Regions from separate parts of the Homo sapiens genome. Here region 1 is linked to region 2. Evidence: promoter capture Hi-C in 16 types of primary human blood cells and fetal thymus (Javierre and others, 2016). All regions are on one chromosome and are shown on one strand. Each heading gives the region's core, a stretch centred on a gene start or on the middle of the fragment in contact. The rest is flanking DNA. Distances are from core to core; before and after follow the strand shown.

Evidence for each region. The method cuts DNA at HindIII sites, captures the fragments that hold promoters and counts their contacts. A CHiCAGO score of 5 or more calls a contact.
Region 1: a contact is called between a fragment that was not itself captured here and the fragment with the promoter of PSKH1 in region 2, in 1 of 17 cell types (erythroblasts). The highest score is 5.4, in erythroblasts.

Annotation. Positions count from the first base shown.
Region 1 is chr16:67,568,329-67,573,888 of GRCh38, forward strand. CTCF (CCCTC-binding factor) reads left to right here. Exons shown (of 12, transcript NM_006565.4): 2 at 2,820-2,936. Among named protein-coding and RNA genes, the nearest start is that of CTCF, 8.6 kb to the left of the region's middle. The HindIII fragment of the contact is 533 bases long and covers 3,230-3,762 here.
Region 2 is chr16:67,891,838-67,897,309 of GRCh38, forward strand. It overlaps PSKH1 (protein serine kinase H1), which reads left to right and starts at 1,417. Exons shown (of 3, transcript NM_006742.3): 1 at 1,417-1,534. RefSeq lists silencers at 1,154-1,213, 1,544-1,663. The HindIII fragment of the contact is 6,871 bases long and covers 1-2,015 here.

The sequences.
Region 1 (5,560 bases), core at 2,246-4,745, 320 kb before region 2:
CTCGACCTCCCAAAGTGCTGGGACTACAGACGTGAGCCACCATGCCTGGCCTTTTTTTTGTTGTTGTTCTTCTTCCCTGAGACGAAGTCTTCCTCTGTCACCCAGGCTGGAGTGCAGTGGTGCGATGGTGGCCCACTGCAACCTCCGTCTCCCGGGTTCAACCAGTTCTCCTGCCTCAGCCTCCTGAGAAGCTGGGATTACAGGTGCATACCACCATGCCCAGCTAGTTTTTGTATTTTTAGTAGAGACTGGGTTTCACCACGTTGGCCAGGGTGGTCTCGAACTCTAACCTCATGATCCACCCGCCTGGGCCTCCTAAAGTGCTGGGATTACAGGCGTTAGCCACTGTGCCCGGCCTGCCTGGCTAATTTTTATGTATTTTGTAGAGACGGGGTTTTGCCATGTTGCCCTGACTGGCTTTGAACTCCTAGGCTCGAGCAGTCCTCTGCTGTGGCCTCTCAAAGTGCTGGATTGCTGGTGTGAGCCATCACACCTGGCTATATTATTTGGAAACTCTTTTTTTTTTTGAGACTGAGTCTTGCTCTGTTGCCCAGGCTGGAGTGCAGTGGTGTGATCTTGGCTCACTGAAACCTCTGCTTCCTGGGTTCAAGCGATTCTCCTGCCCCAGCCTCCTGAATAGCTGGGATAACTGGCACACACCACTACGCCTGGTTAATTTTTGTATTTTTTTTAGTAGAGACAAGGTTCCACTATGTTGGTCAGGCTGGTCTTGAACTCCTGACCTTGTGATCCGCCTGCCTTGGCTTCCCAAAGTGCTGGGATTACAGGCGTGAACCACTGTGCCTGGCCTATTTGGAAACACTTAGTTCAAATTTAGCTCTTTATTTCATTTGGGATTTTATTTTATTCTTTTTTTGAGACAGAGTCTCACTCTGTCGCCAGGCTGGAGTGCAGTGGCACGATCTTGGCTCATTGCAGCTCCGCCTCCTGGGTTCAAACGATTCTCCTGCCTCAGCCTCCTGAGTAGCTGGGTTTACAGGCCTGCACCACCATGCCCAGCTAATTTTTGTATTTTTAGTAGAGACGGGGTTTCACTATGTTGGCCAGGATGGTCTCAATCTCTTGACCTCGTGATCCGCCCGCTTTGGCCTCCCAAAGTGCTGGGATTACAGGTGTGAGCCATTGTGCCTGGCCTGGGATTTTCTTTCTTTCTTTCTTTCTTTTTCTTTAGAGGTAGGTTCCACTCTACCTTTGCTTGAAGCTTGACAGTTCATTTTGTAATTTAGGGTGAAAAGATGCCATCTAACAAAGTATTCCGTTATTCGACTAAAAAAACTGTTTCATTGCTATGCTTCTAGGATTTTCAAAGGTCAGTAAAAGCTCCTTTTGCCAGTTATCTTTTTTTTTTTTTAATGAGACGGAGTCTAGCTCTGTCGCCCAGGCTGGAGTGCAGTGGCGCGATCTCGGCTCATTCCAACCTCCGGCTCCTGGGTTCAGGCGATTCTCCTGCCTCAGCCTCCTGAATAGCTGGGATTACAGGCGTGTGCCACCACGCCTGGCTAATTTTTGTATTTTTAGTAGAGATGGGGTTTCGCCATGTTGGTCAGGCTGTTCTCAAACTCCTGACCTCAGGTGATCCACCTGCCTTGGCTTCCCCAGTTATCTTACTAAACTGGAAAGCATAGCCTTTACTTGTGGCATGAACAAACTTAATCAGTAAGACCACTACTTGCTAAAGATACGGAAATAAACTGTTAGAGAGCCATTACTGCAGCCATAAGAATTAATTTTTTTTTTTTTTTTTTGAGACGGAGTCTCGCTGTGTTGCCCAGGCTGGAATGCAGTGGCAGGATCTCGGCTCACTGCAAGCTCCGCCTCCCGGGTTCATGCCATTCTCCTGCCTCAGTCTCCTGAGTAGCTGGGACTACAGGCACCCGCCACCACACCCGGCTAATTTTTTTCTTTGTATTTTTAGTAGAGACGGGGTCTCACGTGTTAGCCAGGATGGTCTTGATCTGCTGACCTCGTGATCTGTCTGCCTCGGCCTCCCAAAGTGCTGGGATTACAGGCGTAAGCCACTGCGCCCAGCCAATAATTAATTTTTTGGTAGTTTGAATATGTGTGCCATTATTTGGTTGCAATATTGCAGTGGAGTGTTTTGTTTTGTTTTTTTTTTTGAGACGGAGTCTCGCTCTGTCGCCCAGGCTGGAGTGCCGTGGTGCGATCTCGGCTCACTGCATGCTCTGCCTCCCAGGTTTGCACCATTCTCAGCCTCCCAAGTAGCTGGTACTACAGGCGCCTGCCACCACACCCGGCTAATTTTTTGTATTTTTAGTACAGACGGGGTTTCACCATGTTAGCCAGGCTGGTCTCGATCTCCTGACCTCGTGATCTGCCCGCCTTGGCCTCCCAAAGTGCTGGGATTACAGGCATGAGCCACCGCGCCTGGCCTTTTTTTTTTTTTTTTTTTTTGAGACAAGATCTCTCACTCTGTCAAGCAGGCTGGAATGCAGTGGCACAATCTCAGCTCAGTACAGCCTCAAACTCCTGGGTGAGTCTCCCACCCTGGCTTCCGAAAGCGTTAAGATTACTGGTGTGAGCCTGGAGTACTATTTTGCTACTTAGAAACCTTTAGTCCTTTATATATTTAGCAAATGTGTGAAAAAATAAATGAATGTTTTGTTATTGGCTTGATGGTGGACATTTATGGAATGGCTCGGTTAGTGACATGACATGAACAGGTGTTTTGTTTCTTTCCCAATTTTTTCTGTCTTCAGTTTTCCCTCATTTTTTTTCATACTATATGCGTATTTGTATGAATTTAGTGTTTCATAAAATGATTTGTGCTTTTCTTTTAGAATGATTACGGACCTGAAGCCAAAGAACAAGATGCGCTAGTGGACAGATTGCTGACCAGGGGCTTGAGAGCTGGGTTCTATTTTCCCTCCTCAAACTGACTTTGCAGCCACGGAGAGGTAAGTGCTATTTCCATTTTTTCTATCTTAAAAATGGTAGTAATATAACCCTCCTGGAGTTGGAGGATTTGTTGGCTAATTCTTGAATATAGGGGATGCAGGATATCAGGTGATTGAGAGCATACAGGCTTCATAATCAGAGTCCTGGGTTTGAAACTCTTTACGATGATATACTAGCTGGGTAATATGGGGCAAGTTACTTTAACCTGTCTACTCCTGTAGTCCTCACTTGTGAGAGAATAACACCACCAATCTCAGAGACTATTCTCCGTTAATGAGAATGTGTTTTGTAAAGCTTTAAGTACTATTCTGAACATGTACATAGAAAGATCCCAGGAAATTGTGGCTGCTTTTCTGTAGAAACCCTTGGAATGTGTATTTTGACTATTGGCAAATGAACTGAAAAGAAAGTCCATGACCTGTGGCTACTTGTAATTTTGATAAGAAACAGATGGAATCCTGTTCTTGGGGAACCTGGTATCCTGGATAAAAATTGTCTTAATTTGAGTTAGCCTAGCTCATTGCCCATTTTGCGTCAGAGTGTGACAGTGATTATCATTTTAATTTAGCCTGTAATTTTTGCTATAAAATATAATGGACATTATATGGAACTTGGAACAGACCTTCTATAAATATTGGAATCTACTATGCTTTGGGATCTCATAAACAACAAAGTGGGATTCTGGTTGTAAAAATTATCTCTTCTCACGGTACCGGAAAGCACATTTTTTTCAGACCCTAGAAAAATGTGAAAATAATTTAATCGTACATGTGTAATGGCAAAAAGGAATGTAGAAGTGGAAATTACAAATGCCAGGATTAGATAAGCTTATGTGAATGAATCATCTAAATGACTACTAAGATTTTTCTTACAAGCTCTGCCTGGAGCAAATAAAGAGAAGGGAATAGGAATGAAAGTTCTGTTATTCTTCAAACCTTTATTTTCCAAATGGGCAACTTGTTATCCTGCTAGATGGGAAGGAGAAGGTCTGTGGTAGTATTCTGTCACTCCAAAAATAACTTACGCCCTGCAGGTTCTTTTAGGAGTGTTGACACAGAGTGCATACCAAAAGTTGCTGATTTAAAAACTATTGAGAAATCGAACCTTTAAGAGTTTAGGGAATGGGTTTATAGGAACACGTTAATCACTTTCAAGTGTTATGACTAGCTTAATTGCTTAGATCCCTGTTTCTCAAACTGGGATATGAATACCCTTAGGGAATCAGGTGGTATGATTTCGGGGTACTTGGAGTCACAAGAAAGATAAACATGACCCATCTTCCTAGAACTTCAGTTATAGTCATAGAGGAGGTGGTGAGTTAAGTAATTTAACTGGTCAGTGATTAAATATTAAATATTGGCCAGGCACGGTAGCTCACACCCAGTACATTGGAAGGCCAAGGCCTCCAAAATCCCAGTAATCCTAGTACTTTGGGAGGCCAAGGCAGGTAGATCACTTGAGGTCAGGAGTTCCAGACCAGCCTGGCCAACATGGTAAAACCCCATCTCTACTAAAAATATAAAAACTAGCCGAGTGTGGTGGTGGGTGCCTGTAATCCCAGCTACTTGGGAGGCTGAGGCAGGAAAATCGCTTAAACCTGGGAAGCAGAGGTTGCAGTGAGCCAGGATTGTGTCACTGCACTCCACCCTGGGCGACAGAGTGACTCTGTCTGCCCCCCCCCGCCCCCCCCCCCAAAACAACAAAAGACTGGGCGCGGTGGCTCACGCCTGTAATCCCAGAACTTTGGGAGGCTGAGGTGGGCGGATCACAAGGTCAGGAGTTCGGGACCAGCCTGGCCAACATGGTGAAACCCCGTCTCTACTAAAAATACAAAAAATTAGCTGGGTGTAGTGGCGGGAACCTGTAATGCCAGTTTCTCGGGAGGCTGAGGCAGAAGAATTGTTTGAACCTGGGAGGCGGAGGTTGCAATGAGTTGAAATCACTGCACTCCAGCCCAGGCAACAGAGTGAGACTCTGTCTCAAAAAAACAACAAAAAAAACCCCAAGAAGACAATTAGCTGGGTGTGGTGGTGCGTGCCTGTAATCCCAACTACTCGGGAGGCTGAGGCAGGAGAATCACCTGAACCAGGAGGCAGGCAGAGGTTGCAGTGAGCCAAGATCACACCACTGCACTCCAGACTGGGTGACAGAGCAAGACCGTCTCAAAAAATAAATAAATAAATAAATATTAAATATTGTTATATTAAAACAAATAGACATTTTTGGAGCAGAATGAAAACTGTATGATTAAGATAACATAGGTCTTCAACAAAATGAGCATGAGTGCCTGAGGGTGGGAAGTTCTCTCTGTATAGGTTCTATAGTGGATATGTTTGAGAAGCAATACATTTGAGCTATAGAACAGCTCTGCTATCCTGCTCCTTACTTTGTCCTTGTAGTATTTGTGTAGGGAAAAACTCTCAAGCCCAGGTTTTTCCTTTGCTTTCACATAACAACCACCATCAACACAAAAGAAGACTTACGTGGCTGGGCCCAGTGGCTCATGCCTGTAATCCTAGCACTTTGGGAGGCCAAGGTGGGCAGATTGCAAGTCCAAGAGATTGAGACCATCCTGACCAACATGGTGAAATCCCATCTCTACTAAAAATACAAAATTTAGCCG
Region 2 (5,472 bases), core at 167-2,666:
GCCTGGGTGACAAAGCGAGACTCTTTCTCAAAAAAAATAAAAATAAAAATAAAAATAAAAATAAAAATAAAAATAAAGAAAATTAACCGGGCATGGTGGCAGGCGCCTGTAATCCCAGCTACTCGGGGAGGCTGAGGCAGGAGAATTGCTTGAACTTGGGAGGCAGAGGTTGCAGTGAGCCGAGATTGTGCCATTGCACTCCAGCCTGACAACAAGAGCGAAACTCCATCTCAGGAAAAAAGAAAAGAAAGAAACCTTACTACATAAAATAGACAACAATTTTTTTTTTTTTTTTGAGACGGAGTCTCACTCCATCGCCAAGGCTGGAGTGCAGTGGTGCAATCTCAGCTCATTGCAACCTCTGTCTCCCAGGTTGTAGCTATTCTCCTGTCTCAGCCTCCCGAGTAGCTGGGACTACAGGAGCCTGCCACCAAGCCTGGCTAATTTTTGTATTTTTAGTAGAGACAGGGTTTCACCTTGTTGGTCAGACTGGTCTCAAACTCCTGACTTCAGGTGATCCACCTGCCTTGGCCTCCCAAAGTGCTGGGATTACAAGTGTGAGCAGTGGCGCCCAGCCGACGACAATGTTTTATTGGTGTTAATTTATTTTTAGGTTTAAAGTATAACATTAGCTTATACAGTCAATCAAAGACAGTTCCATGTGCAAAGTACATACTCAATAAAGATTTGAATACAGAGCTACTGAAATGGGGAAGATGGATGGAGGTTACAATGCACTTACCATCTGCAGCACCTATTTTAACCCCTCCAAGTTGGGTTGACTGTAAAGTGAACCAGTTCTGATCCTATAGAGAAGTCATTGTGAATGGTAACAATTTTTTAAAAATCCGCTTGCTTTTCAGACTCGGCATATAAATTAAATTAACAACAACAAATAACCATGAGTCCAGAAGTTGGCCCAAGATTGACTTCACCTATCTACAAATTAACCCTTTGCATCTCTTCTTTGATGGAGGCCAAATTCAACACATGGAGTGTTGAAATTATTCTAAGTGCAGTTTTAAAAAATAGATTTTGTTAATGAAAATTAAGTCTATCCTTTGCGGAGTTCCAGAGGCACTTCCAGAAACCTCTGTTGGAAAGCATTGTTTACCCAAGCTCGCATTACAGAGTCCCCTTTCCCCCAACCAGAAACTTGAAACTTTCTCCCTATTTCCCGCGATCCTTCCTTTTTCTATCACCGACCCGTCTCGCAGGCAGCGGTCAAGTTACTTTGAGCGACAAATAGACCCACCCCTTCAGGAGAGTGCCCGTCCCCGCCCCGAAGAGGTTGATTGGCAGGCCACGCTCGGAGATCCGCCAGCCGCGTAGCCCAGTTTCGGGAGAGTCCGCCCCCGACCCGCCCCCGACCCGCCCCGTAGGCTTGTTTTGGCGTCAGCTGCGCGCTGTGATGACGCCACGACGCTAACGCCCGAGAATGGCGGCGGCGGCGGCGGCGGCGGCGGCCGCTGCCATTGCCCGGAGATGGCCGGCAGAGCCGCCGAGACGCCGAAGAGCCCGCCGCCCGCGCGAGGTGAGGCGGCCCGGCCCAGGACGACGGCCCGACGGGCGGGAGGGGCAGCCGAACTGTGGTCGTGGTCGCTTTCTGGCGCTCCGGGGCCTGCCCCTGGTCAGCCTGCAGCGTCGGCCCGTGCCCCGTGCGCCAGGGCCTACAGGGTTGGAGAGCAGGCCGGGCGATGGCTGCTCGGGTTCCCGGCGTCCGAGTCTGGACTGGCCTCGGAACGTGCTGTCGTGCTGGATAGCCCGTCTCCAGGCCCGCTTGGGCCTGGTGGACGTGGTCGGTTGCCCTGCCTGCTTGCTGTTCAGCCGCCCCGCGTCCAGAGCGGGTCAGGTTGATCCAACCTGGTTGTCCTTGTCCTTACTGCCTTCTCGCGCCCGGCGCCTACTCCACACCCCTCCTTTGCGTCTGCCAGGGGCCGGCGGGGCAGCTGATCGCTTCCTTGTGCAGGCTGGGAAATAGCAGGTCTGAGTCCAGCTGGGTTGCTTGCTTGGCAAGCTTGTCATTCCTCTACCTGCAAGGGGAAGCCTAGTCCCCCACACTTAGTCCCCCTCCATAAAGCGGCTGAAGTGATAATTCCCACCTGAAAATCTGAGTAAGTCCTTCACTGCCTGAAACTAGTTCCTTAGTGCCTTCAGGACAAAGGCCGCACTTCTTAGCAAGGCATTCAGGGCTCTTCGTAATCTGGTGAAGGTTTAACCAGCCAATCAACACCGGAGCACTTCTGTGCTCCCTTTACGTAGTTTATTGTTGTTAAAACGTGTGGCGCTCCTGTTAGCTCTGGTTTCATACCTTTGTGTTTTAGTATTACTAATTTTGAGACAAGGCCTCTATTGCCCAAGCTGGAGTGCAATGGCTCATTCATAGCTCACTGCAGCCTTGAACTCCTGGACTCAAATGATCCTCCCGCCTCAACCTCCCGAGTAGCTGAGACAAGAGGCACTCCCCTCCACGCCTGGCTAAGTTTAAAATTTTTTGTAGAGCCAGGGAGTCTGGCTTTGTTGCCAGAGCTGGCTTCAAGAGACCCTCCTGCCTAGGCTCCTAACATATTGAGATTATTAATACAAGCGTGAGCCACTGTGCTTGGTCCCCTTGTGCTTTAGATAACGCAGTTTTCTCAGTTTGCTATACACTGCCTTCCACCCCACCGACCACCTACCAGTGTTGGAAACTTACATCTGTCCTATAAAATCCACCTGAGATGTCACTTCCTAGGAAAAAAATCTACCTTGCTTGGCATGTAACCATTAACTCCTCTATATCCATGCTGCTACTATTGAGTACATCCTGTTGTGTCACATGGTGGTCTTCTGTCTGCATATGTCTGGCTCTGTGCCTGGCATAAAATAGGGGCTAGCCTCCAGTAGCATTTGCTGAATGCTGACTTATGAATGGATAGATTCAACTGTATTTTTGAGCACCTATCAGGGCTAGGATCTAAGATGAGCACAGCAAATGCCAGCGTATGTGTGTGGTAGGTAGTACAGCCTCTTAATCCTGGATAGTCCAAAATCTCCTGGGATAATTTTGTGATACAAAATCAAGAGCCTTACTGTCTGAGTTAGTTTTTTTTTTTTTTTTTTTTTGAGACGGAGTTTTGCTCTTTTTGCCCAGGCTGGAGCAATGGCGCGATCTTGGCTCACTGCAACCTCTACCCCCCAGGTTCAAGTGATTCTCCTGCCTCAGCCCCCAGAGTAGCTGGGGTTACAGGCAAGCACCACTATGCCCAGCTAATTTTGTATTTTTAGTAGAGATGGTGTTTCACCGTGTTGGCCAGGCTGGTCTCGAACTCCTGACCTCAGGTGATCCACCTGCCTCGGCCTCCCAAAGTGCTAGGGTTGCAGGCATAAGCCACTATGCCTGGCTGAGATTTTTTTTTTTTTGTTTAAACAGAGACGAGGTCTCGCCATGTTGCCGAGGCTGGTGTCGAACTCCTGGGCTCAAGCAGTCCTCCCACCTTGGCCTCCCGAAGTTTTAGGGTTACAGGCAAGAGCCACCACACCTGACCCACTCTTTGAGATTTTGATGAAGAAGATCTGGGGTAGGAATCTGTATTTTTTTTTTTTTTCTGAGATGGAGTCTTGCTCTGACACCCAGGCTGGAGTGCAGTGGTGCGATCTCGGCTCACTGCAACCTCCGCCTCCCAGGTTCAAGCGATTCTCCTGCCTCAGCCTCCCGAGTAGCTGGGATTACAATCACGCATCACCACGCCCAGCTAATTTTTGTATTCTTAGTAGAGACGGGATTTCATCCTGTTGGCCAGGCTGGTCTTGAACTCTTGACCTCGTGATCCACCCGTCTCAGCCTCCCAAAGTGCTGGGATTACAGGCGTGAGCCACCATGTCTGGCCAGGTATCTGTATTTTGAGAAAACTTCCCAGGTAACTTTACTGTGCTTCCTCATTGAAGATCTTTGTCATTGCCTAAGAAAACTGTTGTCTCCTTTGTCCAGTGAGAAGGCCTTGCCTTGTGGACTCCTGTTGTGGTCTCATGCCTAGAAGCATGGGCTTTGGTGTCAGAAAGACCTGGATTCAGTTTCTGGCTTTTCTGAAATCTTGAGGTTCTCTAAGTCCTAATTTCCTTATTCCAAAATAGGAATCATCGTGCCTACTACATGTGCTTGTAGAGAGGAGTGAGATGGTACATATAAGATCCTTAGCAAAGTTGGCACTCAGTTAATGGAAGCCACTTTTATTACTAATGGCTCCTCTTCCCAGAGTTTCCCTTGTCAAAAGAAGGTCTTGTCTTCTTTTTTCTTTTCTTTTTTTTTTTGAGATGATGTCTCGCTCTGTCGCCAGGCTGGAGTGCAATGGCGTGAGCTCGGCTCACTACAACCTCCGCCTCCCAGGTTCAAGCAATTCTCCTGTCTCAGCCTCCTCAGTAGCTGGGACTACAGATGCCTGCCACCACACCTGGCTAATTTTTGTATTTTTAGTAGAGACGAGGTTTCACCGTATTGCTCAGGCTGGTCTCAAACTCCTGACCTCAGGTGATCCACTCACCTCGGACTCCCAAAGTGCTGGGATTACAAGCATGAGCCACCACAACCGGCTAGAAGGTCTTGTCTTAATAAGCGTGTTTGTTCTTCAGGGTTAGTTGTGTGTAGGAAGCTGCTTTGTATTGTGTGATTTCCTCAAGGTCATTTCTGGTCATCGGGGAAAACTGACAATAGTGTGCTTCTTTTTTTTTTTTTTTTTTTTTTTTGAGACGGAGTTTTGCTCTTGTTGCCCAGGCTGGAGTGCAATGGCTCAATCTTGGCTCACCGCAACCTCTGCCTCCCGGGTTCAAGCGATTCTCCTGCCTCAGCCTCCCGCAATATGGTGCCTCTAAATCAGGGTCGATTCAGTTGGCCATACCCCTAGAAGAGATTTGGAATGCTGATTCACTAGAGGGTGGGTTTGCTGAATAAGCATATTGTCTAGGTCTAATTGTAGTTTTGTGCTTGTTAAGTTGCATAAATGAGCTAGAAAAAGTGCAGCCTTCAGGAAACCTGTTTGCATCTGACACTGAGCTCCAGTTGCACTTCACCTCAGGCATCTGGTTGGCATCTAGAACAGAATGCCCCTACAGAAGTAGGTGCTGGAGTTCTCTATCATAATCACAAGTTCATAGTTAAATGAGTGAGACTTTGGTTTGGCCTTCTGTTTTACTTTGGAAGTGTGAGTGTGTAATATGGGCAACTTAGGTCCTCTTCACAGCTTCTCAGCTGTATGATGTGAATGGGCTATAGGTGTGCCAAAGTATCGACCCTTAAGCTTCAGGATAGCTGAGAACAGCTGTCTCCACTGACTCCCGGGTGTTATACAATAGTATCATTCTATCATTCTCTCTGTGTATCTTGGCATGGGGAAAAATTTTTGAGAAAAAGTACAGCTCTGGAAGAAGGGAAGCAGTTCTGCTTGTTGAGAGCTGGAGAGAGACTTATTTATTTGAACTCCCTTTCCTTCCAGGAAT